Linked DNA regions of Homo sapiens: region 1 is linked to region 2. The links are contacts of gene promoters, found by promoter capture Hi-C in human tissues and cell types (Jung and others, 2019). All regions are on one chromosome and are shown on one strand. Each heading gives the region's core, a stretch centred on a gene start or on the middle of the fragment in contact. The rest is flanking DNA. Distances are from core to core; before and after follow the strand shown.

The links. The method cuts DNA at HindIII sites, captures the fragments that hold promoters and counts their contacts. A contact is called where the count stands out against the background at its distance.
Region 1: a contact is called between a fragment that was not itself captured here and the fragment with the promoter of ALX1 in region 2, in 2 of the 25 tissues and cell types used here (mesendoderm cells and thymus).

The regions. Positions count from the first base shown.
Region 1 is chr12:85,867,688-85,872,667 of GRCh38, reverse strand. No RefSeq gene overlaps it. Among named protein-coding and RNA genes, the nearest start is that of NTS, 4.1 kb to the left of the region's middle. The HindIII fragment of the contact is 6,135 bases long and covers 599-4,980 here.
Region 2 is chr12:85,277,477-85,282,036 of GRCh38, reverse strand. ALX1 (ALX homeobox 1) reads right to left here and starts at 1,817. Exons shown (of 4, transcript NM_006982.3): 1 at 1,550-1,817. The coding sequence starts at 1,775. RefSeq lists a silencer at 1,432-1,726. The HindIII fragment of the contact is 12,363 bases long and covers 1-4,560 here.

The sequences.
Region 1 (4,980 bases), core at 2,417-4,916, 590 kb before region 2:
TTCACTTAACAGAGTCTCAGTGAGGATTTGTGCTTACTTTCCTGTTACTATCAGAGCATCTTTGTGACAGAATCCTCTTAAAGCCACTTTGATTAACAAATCGGGAAAATTATATATACTTTGCATGATAATTAAATTAGTTGTTTTCTCTGCTTTTGAATTGCAAATACAAAGAATGATCTTTTAAAATGTGTGATAGCAGTCTAATAGTAAAAAGGAAATGTGATTCTTATTTTCCTCAGATGATTTCTTCAATATGTTGACAAAATTGATCCCTAATTAATTAGAAAAAAGGGGGAGAAGAATTAATGGAAATTCATTTTAAATATATAACATGGATATTAGTTGTTAATGTGAAAATTGAGATATGTGATAAATATTCAAGAATAGGGGAAACATTAAGTTATGTCAAATAATTCAAATTCAAATAGATGCTATATGCTACTTTTCTTTTGGGGAAAAAAGATGTATAACTTTGGTAAAATTATGATGTAGATAAACTTTGACCTCTAATTGGTATTTTCTTTAATGTGTTAGGCTTTTTGTTTCTTGCTCTAATCTAATGCCTTCAAGCTACACATAAACCAATAAAACAATTTGTTGTAGGGATAAAGGTTAAGTATGTATTTTTCCACTTAAAAAGTACCCTACGAACTTCCTAAATGATGCCTTTAATGCAGGATTGTAGACACCTTGCTATGGAGATGGGTGAACTGTTTTTATTTTAAAGGCTTTTTACCCCAGATCCTTTTTCTTTTTTCTTTTTTTTTTTTTTTGAGATGGAGCTTCTCTCTGTCACCAGGCTGGAGTGCAGTGGTGTGATCTCGGCTCACTGCAGTCTCCACCTCCTGGGTTCAAGCAACTCTCCTGCCTCAGCCCCCCGAGTAGCTGGGACTACAGGCACACCACCAGGCCCAGCTAATTCTTGTATTTTTAGTAGAGACGGGGTTTCACCATGTTGGCCAGGATGGTCTCGATCTCTTGACCTCATGATCCGCCCACCTCGGCCTCCCAAAGTGCTGGGATTACAGGCGTGAGCCACCATGCCCGGCATACCTTAGATCCTTCTAAGGGTTACCTAGTTCTTAAAATATCTGATAAAGATTTTAAGCATTGTCCTTTAATAATATTCCTGTGTTGGCCTTCTTAAGTGGATGTTACCTGTTAGGTACCTGTTGATTACAACATCTCTAAAGTAGGTAGATTTCTAAGCTTGTACTGTTACTTATGTCAGACCTTTATTAGGTAATTGCTGAAAATAATCAACAGAGACACCTGAAGAATTGGCAGTTAGAAAGAGTGGTCTGTAAGCTTATTTTGTTTGGAGAAGGGCAAGCTCTGGAACCAACTGATCAAGGGTTGGTTTTTCAGTTCCTTATGGTTTTTTCCTATAGCTCTGGTGACTTTAATACCTCATTAACAGCTTCCAGGATTTTCCAATCTTTTGGTAACCTAAATACCTGAAACTTGGCCTGTTGTGTTTTTACAACCTGGAATCTCCCCTTCACCTTCCTATGATCATCCTGTATTTTATGGCTTAATCAACAAAAACATTTCCAAGTTTGAGTCCTGAAAGTAGTCTCGTCTACTTCTATTTTTCCTAGTTTTCTGTTAAATGCTCCGTAGTTTGTTTATACAGTTTATGGTAAACTGTAAACTGCTAGAAGGAGAACATTCTGACTTCTAAGGTTTATAATCCATAAGTGATCAATACATACTTACTAAATTAAATGAAAATACTGATTACGTTTAATTTCTTACATGCCCTTTCCATGTTTTAATTTTAAATGTTTCTTTCAGCCACACCTTTTAACACTCTTTTGTTATCATTAATCTTCATATTTTATGTGAGCTTTTATAGTCAGTTTTCTCAGCCTTTTCTCTCATCATCCTTTTCCTCTCTGACTGGAAATGTTAACTTTAAAAAAATCATTCAAGAAGATTGTCCTTGGATCATGTACAATCATCAGCTGAATGTTTAGATAAATTGTGAGTTTGCTCCATTTCTATAAATGAGTCTATCATTTGAAGCTGTAACTCTGATTCATCTGAACAAATAATGATGTCAAAGTCTGTGAACCCAATTGATTTTTCTGTTCAATTAAAGTATATTTTCTAGAAATACAGATGGATGTGTGCATGCATACACCCACATAGGATGTGTATAACCCAACCTTGGAGATTTAGGTAAATGTAAACAAACGTTCAGTTTCCCAATCTGCATGTAACCTTGCTTTGCCCATAATCCTTACAAATTCCTAGCTCATTTCCTTTCAGCTCTTCCTATCTCTGTTATTGCATCCATATAGGTAATTAACCTGGAAAAATTGATGACTGACTTCTGTAGTCAAAGCATATTTTGCAACTTAAACCGTAATTACAAAATACGGTTTGCTTGGGACTTACATGTTAATGAGTTACTGTATTTAACTAACCATGCTCCACATTGCAGCCATTGCTGACTTCACCTATAATCTTGCTTCTCGTGTCTAGGAAAAAATGTAAATACTCACAAAATCACCACCCATTATGTGTAATGCTCAGGTAGTTTTCCTTATAGGTCTCCCTTTTGAATAAGACCAAAATAAAAGTATTACAGAAAAAAATGTTCCTGACAAATTTCTTCTTTCATGTTTCTTAGTTTTATAAATTAGTGTAATTATCTAATGTAATAAATGAGACAAATTCTTATTATAAGAAAACTTTCTCTTTTCTTTTTTAATATTACAAAGTCTAAGAAAATTTCCATAGCACCTGCAATACCTGAAACAGAGCAGATGTACTTGAGCTACCGTCTATCAGGAGCAAATTCAGTGAAACACTTTTTTTCTTTTTCTCAAGAAGATATTACATGTTAAATTTGGAATGTAATGGTTTTATATTATTCATACTCCTTGGGTTTATGATTCTTTTTAAATTTACTGTGCTTTCCCAGTGAATCTGATAAGTCTTATGGTTTTGAATCCTATCTATTTCCTAATAACCTCCAAGTTTGTATCTCTGACTACTCAAATTGTATATGCAATCACCTCATTAGCAGCCCTACTTGGAGTTTCATTAGGCAGACTTATTGTCTAAAGTAAAACTTTTGATTCCTCCAAACATCTTTCTAATAATCTTCTGCCCCTCTAGAGTTTTTCATTTCAATTATTAGAACCATGATTTACTGAGTTGCACAGATCTAAAAACTAGAATCCATTTACATTGTTTCTCTCTCCCCTCCACTTCCAAGCTAGCAAAACCCCCTGGGGTGCAGGTCTGTTCCAAAATATATTTCAAATCTAACTACTTTTCCTTATGTCATTTTTGCCACCTAAGTCCAAGCCACCACCATCTTTCTCCTGCGCTGCCATAATAACCATTTGAGTAGTCTCCCTACAACCTTGATCCCTTTCAGCTTTCAAAAACTCCAGAAAAGTTTTTAAAAATGTAAATCTATTCCTGTCATTCTCTGCTTAAAACATTCTAAAGGTTTCCTCTTGTCATGCCTGATGATGGCCTATGCTACCTGAGTGGGTTTTGTCTTCCTCTCTATCATCATATTCCACCATTCTCCCCTTCTGTTCCTATGTTTCAAGCACATTGGTCTTCTGGCTTTTGTGCAACATGCTAAGCTTTTTTGTTAAAGATCTGCAATGAAAACTGTGATTACTGTTCATCAAATATTCATTCCCTTACTCCTCCCAGAGTGGATGAAATATACTTCCTCACTCTTTGACTTTAACTTAGGAAATGAGACTTGCTTTGGCCAGTGGGATGTTAGTAGACATAAGAAAAAGACAGACTTGATTTGTGCTTGACACATAGGGCTTTCCCTTTCTCTCTTCTGCCATTGCCATGAGAAACTCTTTTCTTTTCTCAGATGATCCCAAAATGAGGAGGGACATATGGAGCAAAGCTGCCCCAGCTGACTTGCACACCTGCAATGTAAGGGAGAGATTCCCGAGCTTAAAGCAGGGTTACCCTAGCTGATTCAGAGACATGTGAACAGAGTTAAATAATTTGCTTTAAAGTAATTGACTTTTGGAGTCACTTGTTATACACCATTTTTGTGGCAATAGCTGACTGATACAACCATTTATTTTAAAACCTATTTCACCACTATCCCCATTCAATCTCTACAAGTCTTTATTTGTTCATTTATTTTTGTCTTTTGTTAATAAAAGCATGGATATTCTTGTCTTGTTTCCCTAAATTATCAGAACATAAATAATTCTCCTCATAGTAATCATTCGGTAAATATTGACAATATGCGTTAATGAATTAATCGAATTCCAAGAATCCCTCCCTGATGGTTTTAGAATAAGCTACCACTCCCTCACCTCTCACAAGGACATTTTTATTCTCCAATCTGTGAATAATAAAATCCAGGAAACCTCTTTCGGAGAAATTCCTAGCAAAATGAAATAGTATGAAAAAATGCTTCCTTTCAAAGATTCTTGAATATTGATTTAATTTCAGTTGGAATTTTCTAAGTTGTCCTTGAGGAAAACTGGGTGTACGGTGTTACAGAAGGCCCCAAATTTGGTGAGCCAATTTGTGCAGAAAGGATAAGTACCGGCAAGCTGTCAGACAGAGAAGACTATAGTCAACATTAGAGCATTCTGAGTCTAGAAGAAACAGCCACTGTAACCACTACTACAGATCTAGGAGTAATCTAAAGAATACTTTTCAAATTCATTATTGAAAACCTACTATATGCCAGGTTAATTTTATTTCATGTAACATAGCATACCGTGAAGCAGAGTTCACAGGATATTATTCCTATTGTGCAGGTTAAAAAAAATAAGAGATACAAAGAGTTTAACTAAGGACAATGGGACTTACTAAGTAGAGTATGGGTAGGACTGCAATGTTTTCATTCCAAAGCAACAGCTAATCTTTGTAACATTAATACCAGACCCAAGTAATAAGTCAAAGAAAATCTTGTATTAACATGCTGTATAAAATATTATGCCAAACAAAGTATAGGCTAATACT
Region 2 (4,560 bases), core at 568-3,067:
ATGACTGCCTATGTTCATCTTCCTTAACACTTCTTTGTTATAATTCATCTTAATAGTGTGATATTTGTTTAAAAGTTGATAACGCATCAATTATGTCTCTTATTTTGGATTCTCGACTATTCAAAATAAAATATTATGATCAAGTCCATCCAGAGTCAATACAAGACATTGCAGAATCATTAAAGAAAGACCTGTCAATTCAAATAACGTTAGGCATGCACCTAAGAATTCCACAAATACAGATACCAGGTCTGAAACGCAGCCAGAAAACCAACAACTCAGTGTAAGAATAACAAAAAGTATACGCTCGAATCTTTCTAAATAAATGACTGAAACGACTTAGCTGATTATTTTCTCTATCATTTGCACCTTTATTTTTGATTTACCCTTAGTCAAAAGTTACTTGCAACGTTAAATAAAATTAGTTAAATATGAGATTAATAAAAGAAAAAAACTTGTGTTCAAAATATTTAGAAAATGAGCTTCTACAGGCCAGTGTTTTGTCAGATTTTGAATTTCTATAAAATAGGGGGCAGGGGGCTTGTTGTAAATATTTCACACTTAATTCGTTTGTTATTTTAAAGCAACCCGCCCCTTATAGCTTAACTGTGGAATATATACAATGATAAGGAGAAGTTCTCTTGGAATTGTAAACGTGCTTTAGCTGTCGCGATCTGAAATAATAGGTTAGTATTAGGTTACAAGATAGAAAAGATAGATGGTTTGTTTTGATAACATTTTGACTTGGAGATACTTGGGCATTCAAAGTTGAAGATTTCACCCAGAAGCATTCCAAAGACTCCTTAGGTGACTTTTAATGTGAAGTCATAAAAATACAAAACGTAGAATCTGGGAATGAGTGATTAGGCCGGGGATGGTTTGCCCGAAGCTATTTAGTGTGCTTTAGTGTTTAACAAACATTCAACGCGTGTTGTATTGCAAACGCAAAAAAAAGCAGAAATTACAAATTCACACACGCTAGAAATCTAGGGATCCTCAAACTTTGAAAATATATCGCCACGTCTTGGAAAATTAAAAAGATTTATCTTTACCTAAAGGAGCTCAAAGGGTTTTTTGTTTTTTGTTTTTGTTTTCCGGTTTTTTTTTCCCTACTCGTGACGACAGTGACGTACTCTAACGAGCTGTGATCGATTTCAGTTCCTACCGCCCGGACTGCAAGGCGGGCTCGCAGAGGAAGCGTTCTGTCTTGACTCAATTACGCTCTATTTAGCGCCCTATCAGTTTACTCCAGGAACCAATATTACAGAAGGACTCAGGGATCCGTAGGCGACCAGACCCTACAGCGAAAGGAGAATCGCTCAGAGGCAACCCGGTGCTGGATCTCTCCCTCCCTCCGCCCTCCGCCCCCAAAGGCTGCAGCAGCAGTAACACCGCTTCATAAAGCGAGCACCTTCCACTACCTTCCTCCACCTTCCAGGTCCCTCGCTCCCACTTTTCTCCTTTCTCCCTCCCTGCCTGATCAGACCGATCCTGCATTTTCGATTGCGGAAGGGCTGCGGCGGCTCCGGCTGGGGCGCTAGCGACTCACCGCTGCTGTCCTGACAGGGCGAGGTCCTCTCCAAGCGCACGTGATGCTCGGCGCGGGGCAGGGGTCCGAAGGCCTGCACGCATTTGCCTGCAGACGCTTTGCTGTAAAAGGACTCATTGTCCAGCGTCTCCATAACGTGCTCCAGAGGACCTCCTGCGCCCATGTAAAAGTCACTGTTTTTACTCGGAGGGCTCTTGAGGGCAAACTTCTCGCTCAGAAACTCCATAATCCTGGAAGACTGTCGCGTAGCTCCTGGGGCACAGAAACTGGAGAGCGCTGGGGGAGGGAGCCAGTGGGTGGGAGGAGGGAGGGCCAGAGAGGAGGGAAGGGAAAGCGAGCGCTGCGGCGTCGGGAACTGCCCCGCTCCGGTCCCTTTAATACGTCCCGGCTGGAAAAGGAGCACCCGAAGTTGCTTTTATATCTTGAAACTCAGCTGGCCTCCTCGGGCAGCCTCCCAGTTCTAATGAATATGAAAATAGGCGGGCGACTAACTCCACCCCAGGTCCCCCTCCGCCCCTACCCCACCCCCATTTTCCCCACTTACCCGGGCAGAGGGCGTCCAGGCCTAGGATAGACAGACAGACAGCTCCATTTCAGACAAATGCCAGGAGAGACGAGCCCCTGACACCCAGATTCATTGCCGCCGTGACAGTGGACTGGCATTTCGGAAGATCTTGGTGAGATCGCAAAGCAGTTAAACCTCCACTCCCTACTGCCTGCGCCTTCCTGAGCCACCCGTCCCCACCCCGCCCCCATGCCGGCCACTCACTACCAGAAAGATTTAGAGGCGTCTTAAGAACTTGAAAGGAAATATTGCTCTAAAAGGCTTTTATTTCATCCGTAAATCGTTTACGTGGAAGATTCACATTAATCCGAAGCCCAAGGAACCAGATGCATTGGCAACTGTTAATCGCAGCCGCCGTAGTAGAGGGGCCGCTTCGGCTTCTAACCGGGAGGAGCTCGGGGTCCGGGCCAGCTGGGAGCTTTACGAGGCCGTGGCCTTTTCTTTTTCTCTGGAATGCGGCGGAGTGTGGACGCGGTGGCGATGGGTGGGAGAGAGAAGCCGAGCAAGAGGCAATGAAGCCATTATACTAATGCCAACCAATTCCCTACACCCTCTTCGCCACCCTTCCCTTTGGTCCACGATTTTATCATTAGACCCAAATTATTTTAAGAAAACCCGTTAGGATCAGTGCCTTTGAAAGGCTTTTACTCTAATGCCAAAGTGAGGATTGTTACAAATAGGGGTTTATGAAGAAGAGGAATGTCTGCATATTTTTACAGAAATTACTTTTAATTTTAAAGAGTTGCTGTGGAGTTACTCCGAAAAGCGCTCTGGGAGTGAGTGGTGAGCGCGCGGAGCTGCGGGCACTCGCGGCGCGGCGTCCTGGGCGCGGACAGGTCCAAGGCCTCCATTTCCACCAGAGGGGATGGTAGGGCAGGCAGGACAGCACTGCTAGGTTGAAAGCCCTTCTGTGTGACTTTTGGCACGACTCTTGGCTTCCTAGGAGCCCGCGGCGCTTGGGGGAAATGCGTTCGGTGCCCTGGGCACAAAATCGCATTTGCGTCAGGCACCCTAAGCTAGCAAATTTGGTGAAAATAAGCCAGACAGGTTTTGGTCCAGGTAGGCCTCTGCTTAGACGTCCTGACACAGCCTTTGTCAACACTGGCACTCACAGCGGCCGTCGCGTTTCCCCAGACAAGTCTGGCAATTATGGTGAGGCCTCGGGCAGGCCGAGCAGCCCGGACTCTGAGGATGGTGAGGCCAAGCCCAGCTGTGGTGGGCATGCTGATGGGTTTGAGAGTTTCCACCTTCTGCGGGGGTCTTAGCTGACCCACGCCTCTTTGGTGAGACCTTCTTCGAGACCTGACCAGGCCTCAGCCAGAGAGTAACAATCAGGGAGGGCTGTGCACCCCGGAGCTGCTCCTTAGCGTTGCGCGAAAGGCAGGGTCGGCCTTAAGCACCCAGATCCGACCGGCGGATCCCGAGCAGATCAGCTGGCAGCAGCAGCCTTGCTCGCCCGGCCAAAGTCCAACCCAGACTGTTCTCCCAAGGAGGCGCACAAGCTTAGTTCACATGGCGCAGCGCTCAGTGTGGCCTTGAGCGCGCACTCAGATTCAGGCAAGTGGACACTATTCCTGGGACTAACTAGCTTCTGCTGTATTATTATTACTCTCTCCAGAGCAGTGCTGCAAGAACCAACTGCAGATTGTTAAATTTCAGGGGAGCAAGGTCAAAGAAAAGCACTAGGGACTGAGCTTCAGCAGGAAGCCAGGCTGCGTCGGGCCGCAGGAACTCCAAACCAGACAACCTGGCATTCTGAGGTCAGGCCCAGGGGGAGAGAGTGAGGTGTCGGAAGAAGCCATTGAAACGCTCTTCTTAAAGTGTCCTGTAGCATCCCGACCTTGCGTGAGCAGTAGCCTCAGCTCTGCGTTCTTTGGACACTTTCCAGCGGGCCCCCGGGCAGCCTTGTGGAAACGTTGAGTGTTGCGTTATTCACTCACTCCTGTTGGGTTAGCCATTTTCGATTCTTTCCTATCCCCTTCGGTACCTTCTTATTTTCAGGTATCCTGAAAGTCTGACTTTCTCTACTAAACACGGGAAAGATAAGAAAATGGTCGTTTAATATGTTTTACAAAAATTCACAGCAGCAACAACAACACCTATTGCTGACTTGAGGAAATATACAAACTAGTTATCAACCAAGTTATCTTGTAGAGCTCTGTCAGCTTGTTTATAAATATATGTCTTAAAAGCCCTAAATTTCCGGAAAAACATTACGTGTCTTTTAAATGAAAGACATGTGATACAAGTTCTAGGATACTTGTATGCCAATAAAGGTCCAACTCATAGAGAAAAGTACAGCGTAGCCAAGGACAAGAGCTGTCTAGTAAACCCGTTTCTGCCCCATTACCAAAACTCACTTTTGATGGTAATGGTTGAAGGGGTGGGGTGTAAGGTGTCACCAAACCAACATAATATCCCTGGAGCTCCCTGGAAACTCAAATAT